Linked DNA regions of Homo sapiens: region 2 is linked to region 1. Evidence: promoter capture Hi-C in 16 types of primary human blood cells and fetal thymus (Javierre and others, 2016). All regions are on one chromosome and are shown on one strand. Each heading gives the region's core, a stretch centred on a gene start or on the middle of the fragment in contact. The rest is flanking DNA. Distances are from core to core; before and after follow the strand shown. Region 1 holds the start of SEMA3D (semaphorin 3D). Region 2 overlaps SEMA3D (semaphorin 3D).

The links. The method cuts DNA at HindIII sites, captures the fragments that hold promoters and counts their contacts. A CHiCAGO score of 5 or more calls a contact.
Region 2: a contact is called between a fragment that was not itself captured here and the fragment with the promoter of SEMA3D in region 1, in 3 of 17 cell types (naive B cells, total B cells and megakaryocytes). The highest score is 8.9, in naive B cells.

Annotation. Positions count from the first base shown.
Region 1 is chr7:85,185,722-85,190,753 of GRCh38, forward strand. It overlaps SEMA3D (semaphorin 3D), which reads right to left and starts at 1,335. Exons shown (of 19, transcript NM_001384900.1): 1 at 957-1,335. RefSeq lists a silencer at 1,147-1,206. The HindIII fragment of the contact is 2,551 bases long and covers 1-2,336 here.
Region 2 is chr7:85,045,078-85,050,392 of GRCh38, forward strand. The region is part of intron 9 of SEMA3D (semaphorin 3D); the gene reads right to left. Among named protein-coding and RNA genes, the nearest start is that of SEMA3D, 140 kb to the right of the region's middle. The HindIII fragment of the contact is 7,409 bases long and covers 232-5,315 here.

The sequences.
Region 1 (5,032 bases), core at 85-2,584:
ACTCAGCCCAGGAGGTTGAACTCGAGTCATCAGAGAAGGAGAAACAGTGCCGAAAACGGCCCGTGCGCTACCAGGGTAGCCCATTAACGCATTAACTCCAGGCTCGTTGGGCAGAAGCCGGGAGGAAACACCCTGGGGACCGCACTCCTGGTTAAATGCCCAGCACGAGTCAAATCCGGCCTTTCCAAAGCGAGCCAAGCCCACTACTACAAAGAGATCCCCCGAGTGTTTTGCCTTAACCACATTTCAGACAGCCAGCTTTGTGGCTGCTGTTTGACTCCAACTTTCCCTCTAAATCTAAAAGGATGCACACTTCCATCAGACGGAACGTCGCGATTCCCCGGCGAAGAAAAAGGCGTCGCCCATTCCTCTTCCAAAACGCTACAACAAAAACCACCACGCTTCCCTTCCTTCTTCCTTGCCCCTTTCCCTTCTCCCAGACCAACAAGGAAAGGAGCGAGCGAGGGCGCAGATGCCCTTTGGTCAAGTACTCCCCGGATGTTCCCGACTAAAGCGTCTCCAAATGAACCTGCAGCCTGCGGAAGCCGGGGACACATTCATAGACGCTCTCTGCTGCCCAGACCAGGAGGGGTGGTGGGGGAACCAGGAAGCCAGGGAGAGAGCAAAGTTCCTGGACGCGTCTCAGGAGGAAAACTTTGTGCAGTGCTGCCAGGCGGAGGCTCGTCAGAAGGCTCCGCAGCTGCTGAGGCGGGGTGGGACTGCGCCCCAGGGGCCGCGCTGAAGCTGGCGCCGCGATTACTGCGCACCGATTTCGCCCACTCTCTGTCCGCTCCCGGGAGCCTTCTCTGTCTCAGGACGGTTCCTTATCTCCCAAACCATGCTCGTCCTCCACTTCGGACCCACAGCCACCCCCAAATCCCGGCTATCCCCGCTTAGCACCGCGGTCTCCAGCACACCCTCCCACTGGAGTAGCAGGTGACCCAAACCAGACTTACCTGCTGTGAACTCTTCTCTCCCTCTCTCTTTTCCTGGTGCCTTTTCAGGGAGAGGGGAACGGGATGCAGGCTGAGGTCCAGCGGCGCGGCAACCCGGGGCACCGGCGCGCGTTCCTCTGAGCCGCAGCCCTGGCTGAGCAAGCGGAGCCGCCGGCAGCCCTGGCAGAGCCGGGAAGCTGCGGCCGCAGGGGCCAGGCCGGGAGGCAGGGGGCGCTGCTGCCTCCCCCGAGAGCCGCGCTAGGACAGGCGGAGAGCAAGGCACCAGCTGGAGCTTTGGGGAGGAGAGGGTGGCGAGGAAAGGCACGCTCCAAACAGGAGGGCGGCTTTTAAGTTTGTGGTGTGACCGCAGCAGCTGTCCTGGGAGAGACTCAGTCTTTCTAAAAAGAGGATGCTGAAAACGCCGGGGATTACCTTTCCCCTTCCGATCTCCTCCCCCAGCCCTCGCCCCCTCCTTCCACTGCGCACGCCAGAACTCCCAAGCGTGCAGAAGTTCATCCCTGCTGCGCGGAGGCTGCCAGCAGCGTGGATTTAGAGGTAGCCCTGGCCAAGCGCTGACGGATGTTTATCAGGACAGGGCACCCTATGTGTAAAGCAACCTCTAACGTCTGATCTTCCTTCTGGGTGACTTGGGGACTTCTTTAGTTCCTTCTCTATACCATAAAACCTGTTAAGGGACCCCATGAGGAAGAAACAGGGAGAGTGACCACAAACACCGTCCTAAAAATGCTAATCCCACAAAACAGTACCTGCGTTCCACTATGTAAAACCTCAATCCACGGTTAATGGCCTTGACAAGGCAGGCATAGGGATGAGGAACAGGGATCAACCCTCCGTTAAGGGGCTGGCACCCGATTAAGACCAAACAGGGAGAGATAAAAACGAGTAGAATGTAATCCTTTCTTCCTCTTTCCCTTACGCCAGACCTACAAAGAGGTGTGCCTCATATCCTTGTCTTCGGGAGTTTTTTAGATTTTTGCACCCCTTATTCACACAGTAGGAACTTAGAAGTATATAATGACGAGAAGATCTAAGTTTTGATGAACCTGGATCCTATGCAATTGGAATAGAGGATCCTCTTTAAGCAAAAGTAATGCAGAAATATCTCACTTCTACAGATTCTGCAAAAATATATGACAATGAGAGTTCATGAGGCCACCGTCAGGGACATTAAAAAGGCCTGTGCATTTGGTGAGCCCTGTACGTTAGGCATTTTTAGCTGCATGGTAAATCCTTTGTGATGGGATATCCAGGTTTATAGTCACACACCTTGCCCTTAGTCCCAAACATAAATCTGACATGAGGTAGAGACATGGAAAGCAAGCAGCCACGGGATCCTGCATTTGTCAGCTTGATTTAAGAGCACAAGGTGTAGGGTCCCAAAGCTTCCTTAGCAAGTAACAAGAGATATCTTGATTTGGAGATGGTGAACAGACAAATGCAGTAATGGAATAACTGAAAGGGGTGGAAGACATTCTTCATTTGACCTTTTATCTGTGGCAGAGGGCTGAGGGCCACAGAAGCTAAAGGAGTCATTTTAAGTTATAAATGGTTGATGGCAGAGTCAGGCTAAGGAAAGGCTCAGGTTTCTCAAATCTGACCAAGGCTCTTTCTTGTGTCTCATGCTGCCCCATCTCTATAACCTTGGTTTGGACTCACAACCAATCAACCCCATAAATACCCTCTTTGGATAGAGAAAAAAATTTTAAATCCTCGTAGACTATTTCAAACTATAGCAACTTTTATTTTTTTTCTGAATGCTTTATATTTAATGTTATACCACTCATTCTGTACATAGTCATGCAATTGTTTATTGTATGTTTCTATGTGTTTATATTATTTTCATTTGTATATGTCATTGCACTTCCATGCAAATTGCAATGTCATTGTGCAAATAAAATATCTCTTTTTTTCTCCCGTATATGGTGGGTTTATAGTAAGTAGTTTTTGATTTTTAGAAAATCTCTATTTTTAAACTTTTAAATAATTTTGTCAGTTTATTGGCCAGAATTTTGTGTTTAACTAGAATTGTGGTTAACTTTGGATTTCCCATTTTCCTCCTTTCTCTTTTAAGTTGTAGCTTAATATGCTTAAACCAAATGACACCTTCCTTTGCTACCATTCAATACTTTCCATAAAGCCCTTACAGAATTAATCACTCCCTCCTGTTTTCCCAAAGCACTTTGATTTCACTACTATAATAAGCTCTTTTCACTTTATATTATAATTAGTTATGCATGTGTCTGCATCCCATACAAAAGTGTTGGCTGTTTTGTGTCTTTGTTTCTTCAGCCTCTAATACAATGCCTGTGACATTGTATTGTACTGATTTAGTTTGAGATGCTCAGACTTCAAATTTAGACAGAATTTACCAGAGTATCCTGAACATATCATGAGAAAACAACATCTGGAACGTGAATTCTGTGCTTTCCTTCCTTTTAATGACTCTGAGCACAAAGCAGATGGAATCAACTGTTAATATGTTGCCCAATGTGATGAATGGCCTCAGCTGTGTCCATGGCTCCGTAATCTTCAGGCTGCTTCCCTGAATGTCTTGAATGTGTTAGGTGCTTAACAAATATTTGTGTGTTAAACGAGTTAATAAAAACAGTAGAAATAATGTTAATATTCAGTCACTGGATTTATTTCTGAATTTCTAATAACTGTATAGGGTCCCACCAAGATAGTTTTAACAACCCTTTCTAAGAGTTTGAGATCTACTTTCATCAAAAGCAATTTGGTATTCTGTCCTATAGGGCTAATACCCTATCTAAATTCTTAAAATAAAACCCAGTGGGAAAAAAAGTATATTTTACAAAAAGTTTTGCTAAAATACAAGGTGTATTGTGCAGTTTAGTTTGTCTTCAAGGGTGACTATTCAAGATTTAACGAGTGAGCCTTAATTTCACTGAAAGCGATGTGTATATCATCAGTTAAAACCACCTAATTGTTGCTTGTATGCCTGTTTCAGTCCAAGGGGAAAAATACAAACAAAAAGAAAAAGGAAAGAAAACAAATAACTTTCATGTTCTTGGAAACATTATTGAATAAATAAATTGTGTGCCTTGAGAATCTAGGCTATTCTGAGACATACTACTCCTCACCCATCTCTATTTGGGCTCACAAATATAATATGAGTAAGTAATTTTCATTTTATGGTAGTAATATGTGTTAGGCAATATGAAATACACTATTTCTCAAAGGATCACATTTAATGCCAAACAAATCCAAAGAATAAAATTCTAATTGTAGAATTTCAGTAATCATCCATCTATGTTGAGAGCCATGGGAGAAGGCAGCAGGGATGGGTTAGGGTAGAATAGACATATTGTAGGCTTCTCCAATTCCACATATAGCTACCTCTGAACAGAAGACAGGAGAAAGGTAATTACTGGGTCCAGAGCTTAAATCTAGCAGAAGATTTGGCTGTCCTCTCAGCAGAAGATACTAAAACCAACAAAATCTACAATCCTAGTTCTCTCTGAACAGTTTTATATTCACAAATCAAATGAAAATTTGGTGAATTTGAAAGAAAATTATTGATGAAGGAGACCTCAAAGTTTATACACAGAGGCAAACAAGAAAAATTGTGTTAAAAAGCATGTCATTTTAATGTTTACTTCTCTAAAACTAGTCATACCTTAGTCATTCAGAAAACCTCTCTGTCTTATAATAAATATCACCTTATAAACGTTTTCTCATATATCACCTTATCAGCACTGACTGATAAGAAATGTTGTTATCCTCATCCAAGAAAATCGGCGTGTATGTTAAGTTACATCTAGTTGGAACAAGTGAGTGCATGAGTTTAAAGCAGCTCACCCAGCCCCTTATCTTCTATTAGCTATTTTCTTCTTATAAACTCCAGGTATTTTTTTCCATCTATTTCATTTGATCGTAGCAATACACTCATCACTGGATCATTAGATATTTACATTATAAAATCATCTGATGTGTTTAATGGTGGGGAAAAAAACACACCTGACTTTCATCTTTTATTTCTGTATTAATTATAATACATAGAACTCTCAGAAGTAAATGCATCCCTGCTTCTCATCATCAGATAAAGACAGAAAACA
Region 2 (5,315 bases), core at 2,686-5,185, 140 kb before region 1:
AAGAGTTGGGTTTAATGTTAACTTTTTACAATAATAGATGGGACCAAACTACATATGTAGAGATTGGTTCAGGTAATACTGTCTGTGCTGGAAACTAGGGAAAAGGACAATGGGTGGAACAATCCAGGACATCTAGGAGAATCAGGATAAACTGTGTTTAGTTGAAGACTGAGATCAATTAAAATAGTGAAGGAAAAAGTTATGAAAGTAAATTGGGGTAAGATCAAGGAAAGCTTTAATGCCAGGCCAAAGTGTCTGTATGTTATTAAGTGCACATGAAGAACTACTAAAAAATTTAGTAATTGGCAAAGAAGTTAAATAATCAGTTTCCTTTTAAGAAAATGTATAATATATTCTATATAGTGGCTCTGTCATAAAAAGCCTGTCGGTAATTGCTCTTACATTTATATTTTATATACGATGCCTTTATTATGAGTATCATTGTTAAGAAATAAAGTATATTTCAGCCAGTTATTGGATGATTTCAGATGTCTGCAGATGCAGACAGATTTATCTAGATATGACCTGTTTTTAATGCCAATATCCTCAGAACATTTATGAATATATATCTGTACGTTAATAAGAATAAGCAAAAATATTGACGCTTTCTCCTAATGTAACAATGAGTTCTGTGTTCATGTATAGTAGGATTCCAGTGAGAAGATGTATATCTGGAATTATCAGAAACTAAGATAATTTTAAATGAATTTAAAAATGTAAGATATTTCCCCATCTTTCTCATGGCTCTTGATTTAGATCTGTTTAAAGTAACGTATCTAATCTTTACATTTTTTTATCAGCTTTCTAGTTGTGATAAGAAGAGCACTAGTAAAAACATTTTTATTTTAATGAATTCTTATATATTGATAGTATTTATTAAATTTTCTTTGCCTAAATTTGTATATTTTGAGAGGATCAGCAGTGAATACTAAAAATAATGTTGATTCAATAAATATAAACAAACATATCAGTGATCATGAATATAATGCCAGAGACTAAAGTTTGTCTTACCCATCACAGAATATATGCTGAAATTATTTTGTTATGTGAATACATATATAATCAGAATATCTGCTTAACGACATTCCTTTAATAGGCATATACAGTATTCATAAAAATGAGCAATCGTATCCTCTTTTAAACATTTTACTATGTAAAAGTGATAATAAATGTTCATTTTCAAACATTTCCTCCCTTTCTATTTACAATTATCACTGATATTTAAGGTAACCATGAGAACATTCTAACTAGCAGAATAATCCCATCTAGATTTGTAGGACAGAAAAGGGATTTATACTGTACTGCATTTCTTTTAACCTGACCAAAAAATAGAAATTTTTTGAACAAAATAATCTTACCTACCCATCCAACAGCCTTCTCTAGCCCCTCAGGAATAAAAAGATAAAAAACCAAGACAAAACAAAACAAAAAAATCCAAGCCAAAGATGAAAGCCACCTGCTGTCAGAAGGGAAGCAAATACAGTTCCTGGGATAATAGCACTCAGGAATGGATTATAAGCATTTAATGACTGGATAGTAACTCTTACAGACATCCAGAAGCATGACCTGAGATGGCAAAGTTCAATTCACAAGGAGTTGTATTTCTCCTGTAGGGAAATGTCAGTTGGGCTGACTTTGTTGACCAGTTTCTCAGTCCCTGGATTTGTTTGCATATCCACACAATCTCCTCTAAGAACTTTAAGCCCAGAAGAGGGCTGAAAGGGAGGTAACCACTTTTGTACTAAATTGTCACCTCCTTGCTTATTTTTGTGAAGTTCTAAAGAATATAACCATCTCACGAACACAATAGATTTATCATTAAGATGTCAAAATCAGCAGTTTTTAGTCACCAGGCACTTCTGTGGGTCTCTACACTATTTATCATTCACTTTTTGTAGTTAAGTGTTCCAAAAGCCTTGACACCCTCTACACAAAGATGCAGATGAAAGTAACAAAGAAAGTATATGTAAACAAGCCTGATCACATGTGTTCAATTTGGGTGGTAAGTACAGAGGGTGCCTGTTTTCCTGTACTTGTTATATGTTTGCAGTATTTCTTAATTTAAAATGATTAATTAAAAAAAGAAAAAAAAATTAAAGACAAAACAAACCACAATTTGCAATCCTTCAGCAGCTTTAAAATATAGTACATCTGAGTCATTTGATTGTATGATGGTTGCATGTTACGAATTACTAAGATCTTCTAATCATAGCATCTACTGATAGGTAGATCAGACCTAAAGCAGGGTAATATGGCATTATATTTTCCTTCTACTGTCCCAGCAAAACTTAAACCCTTATAAATCTTATATAGACATGTAAAGTAGCTAGCAGCTGTCACACATGAACTTTTATTGAGTGTGCCTTTTGAACTTTGGGTCACTATGCTGGGTTCCTCTGTTAAACGTGATTTTATCTGTATATACCATCCTCTTCAAGGATCCCTCAGTACTTTATAAACATTGTCATTTTAACCTATATATTAGATAACAGTGGCTTTTGGAAAATGTAATAATTGACTTTCGGCTCCTATGCTCTTAAATCCTGAAGATTTTGTAAAATCAGTTTACTCTCCAAGACATTTGAAAACAAGTATTTTGTTAAGCTACTAATTTGTGTGCAGAGATTTGTAACCCTATTCATGAGTTTAAGTTGAAGGACACCAGTTTCAAATCAATAGAAACTGGATAATGACAAAGTTTAAGAACTTTAAAAAATAGTTGATGCTGGAGTTAGAGGTTATAAATTATTCTCTGCTTAAAATTTAGTTATTTTGCCTAATACTGCTCTTCTGTATCTTTGTGCAAGCAAGAGAATGAAATTCTCAGACACTTTGAAACCATGATATATGCATTCTTTGTGTGCCCCACTCCCTGTTCTACCCATTAATAACACTTATGCTTATAGATTTTAGTTTGAATTAATACTACTCACCTTCTTTTGAAGTGTGATATAAATACTACAGTATTATAAATTAAGAAAAACCTATTCCATTACCCAAACTAACACTGAGGCAAACACACAGGCTTTCTGTTGGCCATTTTTACAAATTCAACAAATAAGATTAGGGAAATTTAATACTTTTGTCTTTTTGATTTAATGCCTGTTATATTTCAATCCATCATTCATATTCTTTGCTTGATTTGTCATTTATAATAGATCCCACAGCAACTGTCCAATCTACATCTATCTGTGTTGTCTCAATCTTCAGTGGGTTATTTCTAGAAACAGATTTTAGAATCTTTCTTTGAAAACTTAGTACAAATGATCTGCATGGGGCTGTATAAATAAATAATAATGATAAGGACAATCCAAACTCAGGGTGGTCTATTCAGAAGTTTGAAACTATGACCATGACATGGTAGAAACAAAAAGTGAAACCTGGCATAAGCCCCCAAGAGACTCATTAGAAGTGTATGCCTTATATTGAACTATATTACTATATTGTGAAGATCTTAAATGAGTATGTTTTGATACATTAAGTGAACTAATGGAAGATAGTGAAGTTATGCTCATTAAATCAAATGAAACAAACTTTGTTGAACTACCCTTTTTAGCCTGTGGGTTTTCTTTTGCAATACTTGCAATGCCATAACTATGTTTCATGTACCTGGTTCATTGGGATTTTTAAAAAAGGATCTGACCACTAAAAAATGAAGGCAAAAATAATAATATGAATTTTAAAAATACGGTTGAGAGTTTTCACATAACCATATTTGGCAGTCAACTCCGGTAAGTTAAGTTGTAGAAACAAATGTAGAAACAACTGTGTAACATAGAACATGTAGAAATATAACATGTAGAAACAAATATCTCTTCACTTACTTTCTTTGGCAACTTAAATTATAAGCATTTTTTAACATAAAGAGAAATTTATGGATACCGTTTCTCTTTACCAGAGGAAGGTCTATTGGCACTTGCTCTTTACTGTTTTCAAAAGTTTTTTTTTCCCACTTCTGATACTTAGGATTCCCCCCAAAATTCTTGACATATAATAACATAGAGTCCTTTACCTCACCTACTAATAATCTTGAAATACTTTAGATGAAATAAAAATATACAAACTCAAACATCTAAGGCAAAGGATAGAGGAGAAAAAAAAAGAACAACAAAAACTTTTGTGGCAGCTATTAAACACACTAACTTTTAAGGGATAAATTCTATAGAGGCTTTCAAGGCAATTTTTTTTTTCTGAAAAATACACCTAGTATTTAGAGACGACTATTTGTGATTTGCCGTTAATGACTAAGCAAATAGAAGTGGAGAACATGTTTTTCTAACTACTTCAGAAACTCATAAAAATTATTGGAAATACAGGACTGGTGTAATACACTATCCTGAACAACTCAGTTTCTAAGATTTAGCACATTCAGTTAGGTAAATCTAGGAATGTTAAGCAGTCCTTTTCAGGTAGAATCAGAGTTCATTCAATTAAAAAAAAAAAGCTGTAGCAAACAGTATAAACCCCTTCCTAGGAATTTCTCAGACAGGAAAACAGATGGAAGTGAAGCAAAAGCACATCTGTAACTCGTGGGCACTAAATCTCTCATTTAGGTTGTAAGTGACATGCTGAAAGTAAGCACAAAAACCACAGCTCAACAGAGATCAATAAATACGGAAAGTGTCATCGGCCTAAAAACACAAATCTTCAAAGGCAGTAATTGTCCAAATAGGACCATATATCAAAATAGACAATGCAAGTGGAATTGAAGCAAAGGGCTATTAATGAGACCCCCAGGCAAGTTATGTGAAAGGGCCATCCAAACTGAATTCCTGGCATGGGGAAAGGAAATACTGCAAAACAAAAAAGAGAACTGGCATAACCTACAGCTGGAATCTGGAGTAGACTTGCATAAGTATAATGGGCAGCTCTTCCAAAAATGAATAGAATTCAAAAGTAATGCAAAACAGCCTTGAGGTGAAAAATTGCAAGCAAGTCTCACCGAAAGAACTAGTATTTCCACCCATTGACTTAAAAGGTGGGTCTTGAAGGGAAACACACACACACACACACACACACACACACACACACACACACACACACAGAGACAGAGTAATAAACATCAGACAGACATAAATAATGTATTTTGAAAGTACTAACTTGCAAAGTAAATAGACACAAATCTTTTCAGTGGGTTTATTTCATGTGGTTTTGCCTATTCATTCAATTAGCATTTAATAGCTCATCAAGAAGATCTGTGTTATTTACCATCTACGAGAGCAGTTCTTTGGGGTGTAAGTTGCACCATTTCGTGCTTCAAGATATTAACTGTTTCACAAAATGAAAGAACTGTAGAGCTTGACAAGGACTTTAGA